Regions from separate parts of the Homo sapiens genome. Here regions 1 and 2 are each linked to region 3. The links are contacts of gene promoters, found by promoter capture Hi-C in blood cells and fetal thymus (Javierre and others, 2016). All regions are on one chromosome and are shown on one strand. The core of a region is centred on a gene start or on the middle of the fragment in contact, and the rest is flanking DNA. Distances in the headings are between cores, read along the strand shown. Region 1 has its middle 5.2 kb from the start of CTU1. Region 2 has its middle 18 kb from the start of SIGLEC6. Region 3 holds the start of VSIG10L (V-set and immunoglobulin domain containing 10 like).

What was found. The method cuts DNA at HindIII sites, captures the fragments that hold promoters and counts their contacts. A CHiCAGO score of 5 or more calls a contact.
Region 1: a fragment that was not itself captured here is called in contact with the fragment with the promoter of VSIG10L in region 3 in 1 of 17 cell types (fetal thymus); the score reaches 5.0 in fetal thymus.
Region 2: a fragment that was not itself captured here is called in contact with the fragment with the promoter of VSIG10L in region 3 in 1 of 17 cell types (total B cells); the score reaches 5.8 in total B cells.

The regions. Positions count from the first base shown.
Region 1 is chr19:51,112,233-51,115,050 of GRCh38, reverse strand. No RefSeq gene overlaps it. Among named protein-coding and RNA genes, the nearest start is that of CTU1, 5.2 kb to the right of the region's middle. The HindIII fragment of the contact is 1,951 bases long and covers 404-2,354 here.
Region 2 is chr19:51,547,918-51,550,620 of GRCh38, reverse strand. No RefSeq gene overlaps it. Among named protein-coding and RNA genes, the nearest start is that of SIGLEC6, 18 kb to the right of the region's middle. The HindIII fragment of the contact is 1,439 bases long and covers 570-2,008 here.
Region 3 is chr19:51,340,876-51,343,575 of GRCh38, reverse strand. It overlaps VSIG10L (V-set and immunoglobulin domain containing 10 like), which reads left to right and starts at 1,437. Exons shown (of 10, transcript NM_001163922.3): 1 at 1,437-1,491; 2 at 1,569-2,423. The coding sequence starts at 1,452. VSIG10L-AS1 (VSIG10L antisense RNA 1) reads right to left here. Exons shown (of 5, transcript NR_186316.1): 2 at 2,402-2,510; 3 at 1,591-1,726. The HindIII fragment of the contact is 2,004 bases long and covers 96-2,099 here.

The DNA of each region.
Region 1 (2,818 bases), core at 130-2,629, 230 kb after region 3:
GAGGGGCCGCCAGTTTTTAGAACTAATACTTACAATAGTAAGGTCAGGTGTTGTGGCTCATGCCTGTAATCCTAGCACTTTGAGAGGGCAAGCCAGGCGGATCACCTGAGGTCAGGAGTTCGAGACTAGCCTGGCCAACATGGTAAAACCCCGTCTCTATTAAAAATACAAAAATCAGCTGGGTGTGGTGGCGGGCGCCTGTAATCCCAGCTACTCAGGAGGCTGAGGCAGGAGAATCGCTTGAACCCAGGAGGCAGAGGTTGCAGTGAGCTGAGATGGTACCATTGCACTCCAGCCTGGGCAACAAGAGTGAAACTCCATCTCAAAAAAAAGAAAAGTTTGACTTCTGTTAGACAGGAGAAAGTGCAATAGATTTATAGTGCCTGACCAAGAAAAGGAAGCTTTATTTAGCTATCATGTCCCTTTCTTCCAGTCATCTCATTTTGCAACTTCTTCAAACAAAGCATGAAGAGAGAAAGCAAAGAATAGTGAAATGTGAGTACTGGGGTTTCTCTGTTCACCACATCCTCCTGGTTTTCTGACTGGAAACCAGTCAAAATGGTCCAGACTTACTGACTAAGACGTCGATCACAAGTGATGGAATCTTTGTGTATGCTGGTAAAAGAGAATTTGATGAGAGGATTTTGCAGTTTCCCACATCATCTAAGAAGAGTAGGGCAGCCTGTTGGGAAGGACAGATCTCCATGAGCCTCCCGTCCTCCTACACATCTCGTTGGGTATTGCCCAAAACATGATGGTCTGAGATCTCGTTACCTGGCCTAGTTCTCAGGTTGTGTTTGCAGGGAGCCACCCTGAGGGATGGGGTAATGTCTCCCTCCAGGACAAAGAGTAGCCTCACTTGCTGCTGGCTGTAAAGGAGCTAGATTCTCCAACTTGCCAGTTTTGTTTCTCGGGGTCCTATCAAACTGAGACAGAGGTTTCTCTGAGCCTTATCCTATATCAACAATATTTACCAAGTCACTCTAGGAGTCAGAACAAACCCAATTTCTGTCCCTATGGGCTCACCATCTAGCACAGTGGAGAGCATTGAAAATGCCTTCACAGACAACGGGGCCATTAGGAGGGTGCTGGGGTCAGAACAAAGACCTGGGCTACAGGCAGAGATTTCACAAGTAACAGCTTTATTTTTTAATTTTTGAATACATATATTGAGAGTTTATTATATGTCAGGTATGATTCTTGTTGAACAAAATAGACAAAAATGTCTTCACCTATTACTACATGTTAGATGGAGACTTGCCCTGGGAATGAGGAGTGAGGAGCATTTTCCAGGGCCCCAGAGCTGAGCACAAACAGATAAAGGGGAAGGGCAAGACTGGCAGGCCTGTTTCTCCCCTCTTAAGGATTGGGCTACCAGGTGACAAATGTTCAGAGACGTCCAAATGTGGGGCAGGTAGTCAGCTAAATGACCCCAGAGGTAGGTATCAAGGCATGATGACTCTGGAAGAATAGTTGCAAGCCGTATCTTGCAGGCTTACATATCAAAAAAAGTCTTGACTTTATATTGAGGGCACTGGGGAGCCATGGAAGGATTAAGAGCAAGGGGGAGGGGCAGAGTCAGCTCTTGGTGGGAGAAGGTATCCCTCTGGGGTGATGTGAGGGAGACTTTAGGGAGAGGAGGAGAGTGGAGGCCAAGAAGTTGGAGAGGAAAACAGAGTGGAGGTCTGAGCAGAAGAGGAAGAGGATGAAATGACTAGGAGCAGAGGCCATGGGGATGTTGAAGGGGGAGTGAAGTGAGCCTATTCCAGGAAGGGAAGTTTGCAAGACATCTTGCAAACAGGATATGGTAGGTGATAGAGAAATATCTATCTGACTCCTAGAATCCTAATTTGGATAATGATGATGGTTCCATCACTGAGAAGGGGGGAAATGTGGTTGTCTGGGGCTCAGAGCAGATTGGGATGAACAGCATGGTGTGCAAGACATCGGGGGGAGCCACGAGAAGTGCAGAGAGAAGAGAGGGTGCGAGGAGGAGCTGTGGAAACTCACATAAAAGGCTCCTGGGATGAGGAGAACGAGAGACAAGGCCAAAGAGAAACAGAGGGCCCTTCAGAGAGTGTTGCCAACAGAGAGTCTTTCCTGGTGCCTCCTCTGGCCAACAAAGTTTATTAGCACTGCTGTGGGAACCCAGGCAGACCTACCATTTAGTAAGGAGATGCAAAAACTAACAAGAAGGCAGTGGGACAGAGCTGGACTTAGGGCAAAATAAGGACTGTTTGATACACTACAATGAAAACAGACAAACCAACCAACCACAGACAAAAATCCCGTTCCTCAGTAGGCTCCACGGGTGAACGAACTCTCTTCATGCAGAAATTCTACCCAGGGAAGCTTCTAGCCCTTCGAGGGGTGGGGAAGCAAGTGCTGCCAGTAACAAGCACCAGATATAGGAAATGGCCCTCAGAGATGCACATTGATGCTGCAGGAACCAAAGCTCCCAGAGCTGGAGAGAGACAGCTGAGCCCAGCCACCATATCTTCCACCAGACGCGGATTGCTTAGGATGGCAGCTAGATGACCTGGAGATGGCAAGGCATTCTGAGGCTGGAAGGGTGTGCAGGGACCAGATCATGCAGCACCTCCGTTGCAGTCTGCAGAGGTTTGACAATGGAAAGCCTGATGGCAATGGGGAGCCATGGAAGAGTTTCGAGAAGGGGAGAGACAAGGTTAAATCTGGGGCTAGTGTGGGAGGATTCAGGAATGAAGGGATTAGAGGTTGGGGTGAGAGAGTCCAGGCAAGAAACGGCCGGCGCAGTGGCTCACATCTGTAATCCTGGGACTTTGGGAGGCCGAGGTAG
Region 2 (2,703 bases), core at 40-2,539, 210 kb before region 3:
AGGTGTAGAGGCAGGTGCCTGTAATCCCAGCTACTAGGGAGGCCAAGGCAGGAGAATCGCTTGAACCTGGGAGGTGGAAGTTGCAGTGAGCCGAGATTGTGCCACTGCACCCCAGCCTGGGTGACAGAGCGAGACTCCATCTCAAAAAAAAAAAAAAAAAAAAAAAAAAGAAAGAAAGAAAAGAAAAGAAAAGAAAAACCTGGAAGAGAGGACCTGGGGCAAAGCTAACCTCCTCAGAGACCCAAGGACCCACAGTTGCTCTCAGAGCATCAGATGTTCCAGATGCAGGAAAGTAGGAACACATCTCTAGGTCAGAGATATCACATGAAATATAGCTCCCAATGAATGACACTGCCTCTGACTGTGACCAGTAGAGAAGGGTCCCCAGGAGAGAGCCCCAGAGGCAGGAACATACCTGTTTCTTATCTGGAGAGTAAGGGAGAGGTGCAGGATCCTGGGGCTGAGGGCAGGGGAGGCCAACCCCAGGCTGACACTCTGGGGTCTCCCCTCTGAGTTTCTCCTCCTCTGTAGCTTGTATCAGATACCCATAATTTATATCCCTTTAAGCTTAAAGCCAGCCATCTTGGAGTCTAAACAGCACCATGCCAGGGGCTTGTGAAGGAAGATGCACCTCTCTTCCTGGGGTTCTGAAGCCCCCGCTTCAAGTCCTCAGTGTACCCCTGTATCCTAGGGTCCAAGATTGTGGCATCAGGCCTCCATGCCAGGTGACCTTCCTAGGAAGCGGTAGATCCATGGGTAGAACTATCTGAGGAGTCCAGCACATGGTTAAAAACCTAGGTGTGGCTTTTCAGGTTCGATCACAGGCAGTTGCAAAGGCTTTTCCTGGCAGGCCTCACTGGGAGACTCCACCCTCTTCACACTCGGTTGTGGTCAAGGACCCCACCTTTCTGGCCAGTCATGCGCTATGCATATTTGCATTTCTATCCCAGTTACATTTATTTCTAGGCCTCGTTTTCTGAGGCCTTGGACAGAGGTCTTCCACAGATGCCTCTGCTGAGACCACCTTGCGGGGGGCAGGAGGAGGAACCTTGAAGACACGTTTCCCCACTCTGACTCAGTACTCAGTTCTTTTCCACTCCTAGCCCTTCTCATGCCCCCACCCTTCCCAGGGTCTGTGGAACTGCCTGAGCCTTTTGTTCAGGGCTCCCTCCTCAGTGAGAGGACCCCGACCCCTATGTCTGTGTTGATCCATGAGCCACCTGACCCTCCAGCAGTGTGCACTGTTCCAGAGGGGTGGCAGGAAATGAAACAAGAAGAGTTGGTGCATTCTCTGGTTTAGACTCTTGCCTCTATCACTGCTGTCTGTGATTAAAGGCTTGATTCATTCTTTCAGTTTGGTCTATTGTTGCTTTAATCGGTGATCCTGCCACCTTGAAGCACAGCTCTCTCTCACAGCCCAGCTGAGCTCCTCATACCACCAGGCTCAGCATCCCCCTTGGATGTTGGCCAGGACACCTGGGTGGCTGAGGGCTGCCAGGATGGACAGGAAGGGTTCAGGGCCTGAGAGATTCAACGCCTGGTCAGGAGCTCGACTGGAGAAGGGAGGAGAAATCACAGCAGTCCCCACCTCAGCAGCTTTCCATGGATTTAGCCAAAGAGGCAGAGCAGCCATACTCCTCCGCATGGTGGTAGAAAATGGTGGCTTTCTCCATTCCAGATGCCAGATGCCAGATTCTCCACAGAATCTGGCTATTGGCCCCACCCAAGGAAATGGTACAGGTAGGAAAAAAACCTTCCCTCTGGGGTCGTGATGAAGGTGGGCTTGCTGCTTGCTCAGGACAGAAGTGGAGGCCCAGAGCTCCGACAGGAGAGGACTGAAGACATCCCAATGAGTCCCACTCCCCCTCACCCCGCTGCCCCCTGCAGTCTGCCCCTCCCACCCATCCCTGATAAAATTCTCACCACTGCTGTCACCAATGTGCAGCTCCTTCTCCTCCTACCTCCCTGGCCAGGCCATCTCAGCCATTCCCCAGCCCACAATTAAGCTTAAGATTGTGTGTTCCCCACCCCTCCCACTGGGGCCTTCTGTTTCCCCTTGGTGAACACATCCACCTCCCCTGAGTACAACCCCAGTAGGCTTTGTGAAACTCCCTACCCCTCCCTCTCCAGCCCAGACCTGCCCCCAAGCCCTGACGGTTCATCTCACCAGCTCTCTGCCATGACACCCCCAAGTCCCTGCTGCTTGAGTCGGGGCTCTGGGAGCCACTGCAGATGCTCCCCTCTCTCACGCATTATAAGAATTAAAGAAAGAAGAAGGAAACACAAAAAACAGCTGAACAGTTAAAGATAGGTTTATTTTGGAGACTAAACCTGAGAAGGGCTTCTGGCTGAGTTAGGTCAGAGGCACTCTCTTTTACCGACTAAGAGTTTTTAAGGATTCAGGGCGGTACAGCTTATCACAGGCTCAGAATGTTTCTGTGTCTCTTTGTCTTGCTTACCTGGGAGGGAGAGTTTTGTGTCTAATCCCATACGTCTTCCTGCAGCTGCAGGCATACCCCCTGAGTCTGCTTTTAGCTTCCCTATCTTAGTGTACCTAAAGGGGAAGGAATGTGTTTATTAGGGCCCACTGTTTTACTGGGGCCCATTGTATGAGTGTGAAGTTTGGTGGTTACCCAGGAGACTTTTCCCCCTCAGACATCCCTTTATGCCTGAGCTGTCTTATCTGTGTTTCACTGTCTGCTC
Region 3 (2,700 bases), core at 188-2,687:
CTGAGGCACTCACTGGGTGACAGAACGAGACTCCATCTCAAAATATATATATATTACCAGTATTATTACTGGTGAGAACTGGGCCAGGGTAAGCTTAGAGGACTGGGAGCTGAGCAGAGGCCCTAAGCTCCACATGGGATGGTGGGAAAAGCTATCAGAAGGAGTCAATGGTCTGACCATCCTGGTCCCAAGTCCAGCTTCTCCCTCTGGCTGTGCAACCTCCTGCAGGTCCCTTGACCTCTCTGAGCCTAAGTCCCCTGGCCTGCAAAGTGAGTATAATGACACTCAGCTTATAGGGTGTTTAGAAGTGTTCAGCCTGATAGTGCATAGGAAACATTTAGCGTAGTTCCTGGCTCAAATTAAGTGGTAATTATGGTTCTTAATAAGGTGAGACCTGAAGGACAAGTTGTGGTTTAGCCAGGTTGGAGGGAGGTGGAGAGTGGGAGAGAGCATTCCAGGTAGAGGACTGGGAGGTGAGATGGGCGGGCAGGATAAGAATGGCAGGATGTTCAAGTGCTTGAGTGGGGGCTGTGCATGAGTTTGCTTTGAACCTTGGATGTCTCCAGAGGGCACTGGGGAGCCAGGGGAGGGCTGTGAGCAGGGGGAGGCAGGTTCAGCTCTGGGTATAGAAGGACCCTGGCAGGGAATGGAGGAGACTGGGCAGAGGAGGGAGACGGGGCAGGAAGAGAAGACAGAGCCTGGCCAGTGAGAACTAGGGGGAGGAGGGTTGGACTCAGATCGACAGTGGTGACAGGGAGGGAGGAGGTGGGAATGTTCTCCAGCATTTGCGAAGACAGTGAAGCCATCCTGGAGGTGTGAGGAAGTTTGGGTTAGAGGAAAGAGTCTGAGTTTAGCGGGACACAGGCCATGTGAGGGCCTCGGGGATGCGGAAATGCAGCTCTGGTCTCAGGATAGAGGCCCTGGCAGGAGATAGCACCTGGAGACTTGGTTCTGAGGGCAACAGAGAGCCGTGGGAGGGTTTGGAGCAGAGGAGGAGCAGGGTCAGATGTATCTGAGGCTGCAGGCAAGACAGAGTGGAAGGAGCCAGGAGGCTGGGGAGGAGGAAGCCTGCTCTGAAGCTGTGGCCATCAGAGGTGGGGCTCTCGGAAAGGTCACCTCACCCTCCTCCAGGAAGTCTTCCTGGCTTTGTCTCACAAATTTGCTCCCACATTTTTAGCTGGGAATGTTTTCTCCAGCTTCCCCCTGGGGGTGGGGAGGGCAGGGATCAGGCTGGGCCTCTCTGCAGATGGGACCAGCTAATGAAGAGAGTGGGATGAGGTGGGCAGCTCAGCCACCACACTGGGGTTGAGGATCTTGGCACCTCCCTCTGGGTCTGGCTCCCTTCCCCTCCCAGGAAGCTAAGCTACCAGTCCTGTTGGACTCGTCTGACCCGGGAGGGATGGGTGCAGTCCTGGGTCTCTCTCCAGTGTCCTTTCAGTGAGGCCAGCACCATGGACAACCCACAGGCTCTGCCACTCTTCCTACTCCTGGGTAAGTTCCCTGCTCAGTCCCTTCCCTGTCAGTCTCCCTCAGCAGCCTCCCCCAATGCCTTCCTCTCTTCTCTGCAGCCTCCTTGGTAGGGATCCTCACCCTCAGAGCCTCTTCTGGACTTCAGCAAACCAACTTCTCCTCTGCCTTCTCTTCAGACTCAAAGAGCTCTTCCCAGGGGCTGGGTGTGGAAGTTCCCTCCATCAAACCTCCCAGCTGGAAAGTTCCAGATCAGTTCCTGGATTCAAAAGCCTCTGCTGGAATCTCTGATTCCAGCTGGTTTCCTGAGGCCCTGAGTTCCAACATGTCTGGGTCCTTCTGGTCAAATGTTTCTGCTGAGGGCCAAGATTTGAGCCCGGTTTCCCCCTTCTCTGAAACCCCTGGTTCTGAAGTATTTCCTGATATTTCGGATCCTCAAGTTCCTGCCAAAGACCCCAAGCCTTCCTTCACTGTTAAGACCCCAGCTTCAAACATTTCTACTCAAGTCTCCCATACCAAACTGTCTGTTGAGGCCCCAGATTCAAAATTCTCCCCGGATGATATGGATCTTAAACTCTCTGCCCAGAGCCCTGAATCCAAATTTTCTGCAGAGACCCACTCAGCTGCAAGCTTTCCCCAGCAGGTGGGGGGCCCACTCGCTGTGCTGGTGGGGACCACCATCCGGCTCCCCCTAGTCCCAATCCCCAACCCTGGGCCCCCCACCTCTCTGGTGGTCTGGCGCCGGGGCTCAAAGGTGCTGGCAGCTGGGGGCCTGGGGCCAGGGGCACCTCTGATCAGCCTGGACCCTGCTCACCGAGACCACCTGCGATTTGACCAGGCCCGGGGGGTTCTGGAGCTCGCCTCTGCCCAGCTGGACGATGCAGGGGTCTACACGGCTGAGGTCATCCGGGCAGGGGTCTCCCAGCAGACTCACGAGTTCACGGTGGGTGTGTATGGTAAGTGGGCCCTGGCGTCCGGCGTGCAGGCGGCAGGGGCTGCTCTGCTCTGCCAGGCTTTGGGCAAGTCACGGTGCTGTGGGGTCCCTGGATAGGAGAAGAGGACTTCTGGGTTGAGGAAGGGAGAAAAAGAGCTAGAGGTCAAGGCAGGGGTGTCTGAGCAAAGGTGGACCTGGGATGGAGACTCCTGGGAGCCTGAACTCCCAGGTCTGAGGGAGGAGGAGGAGGCTAGGAGCCTCTTCTGGCGAACTCCTGGGTCCCGGAGAGGAGGTGTCTG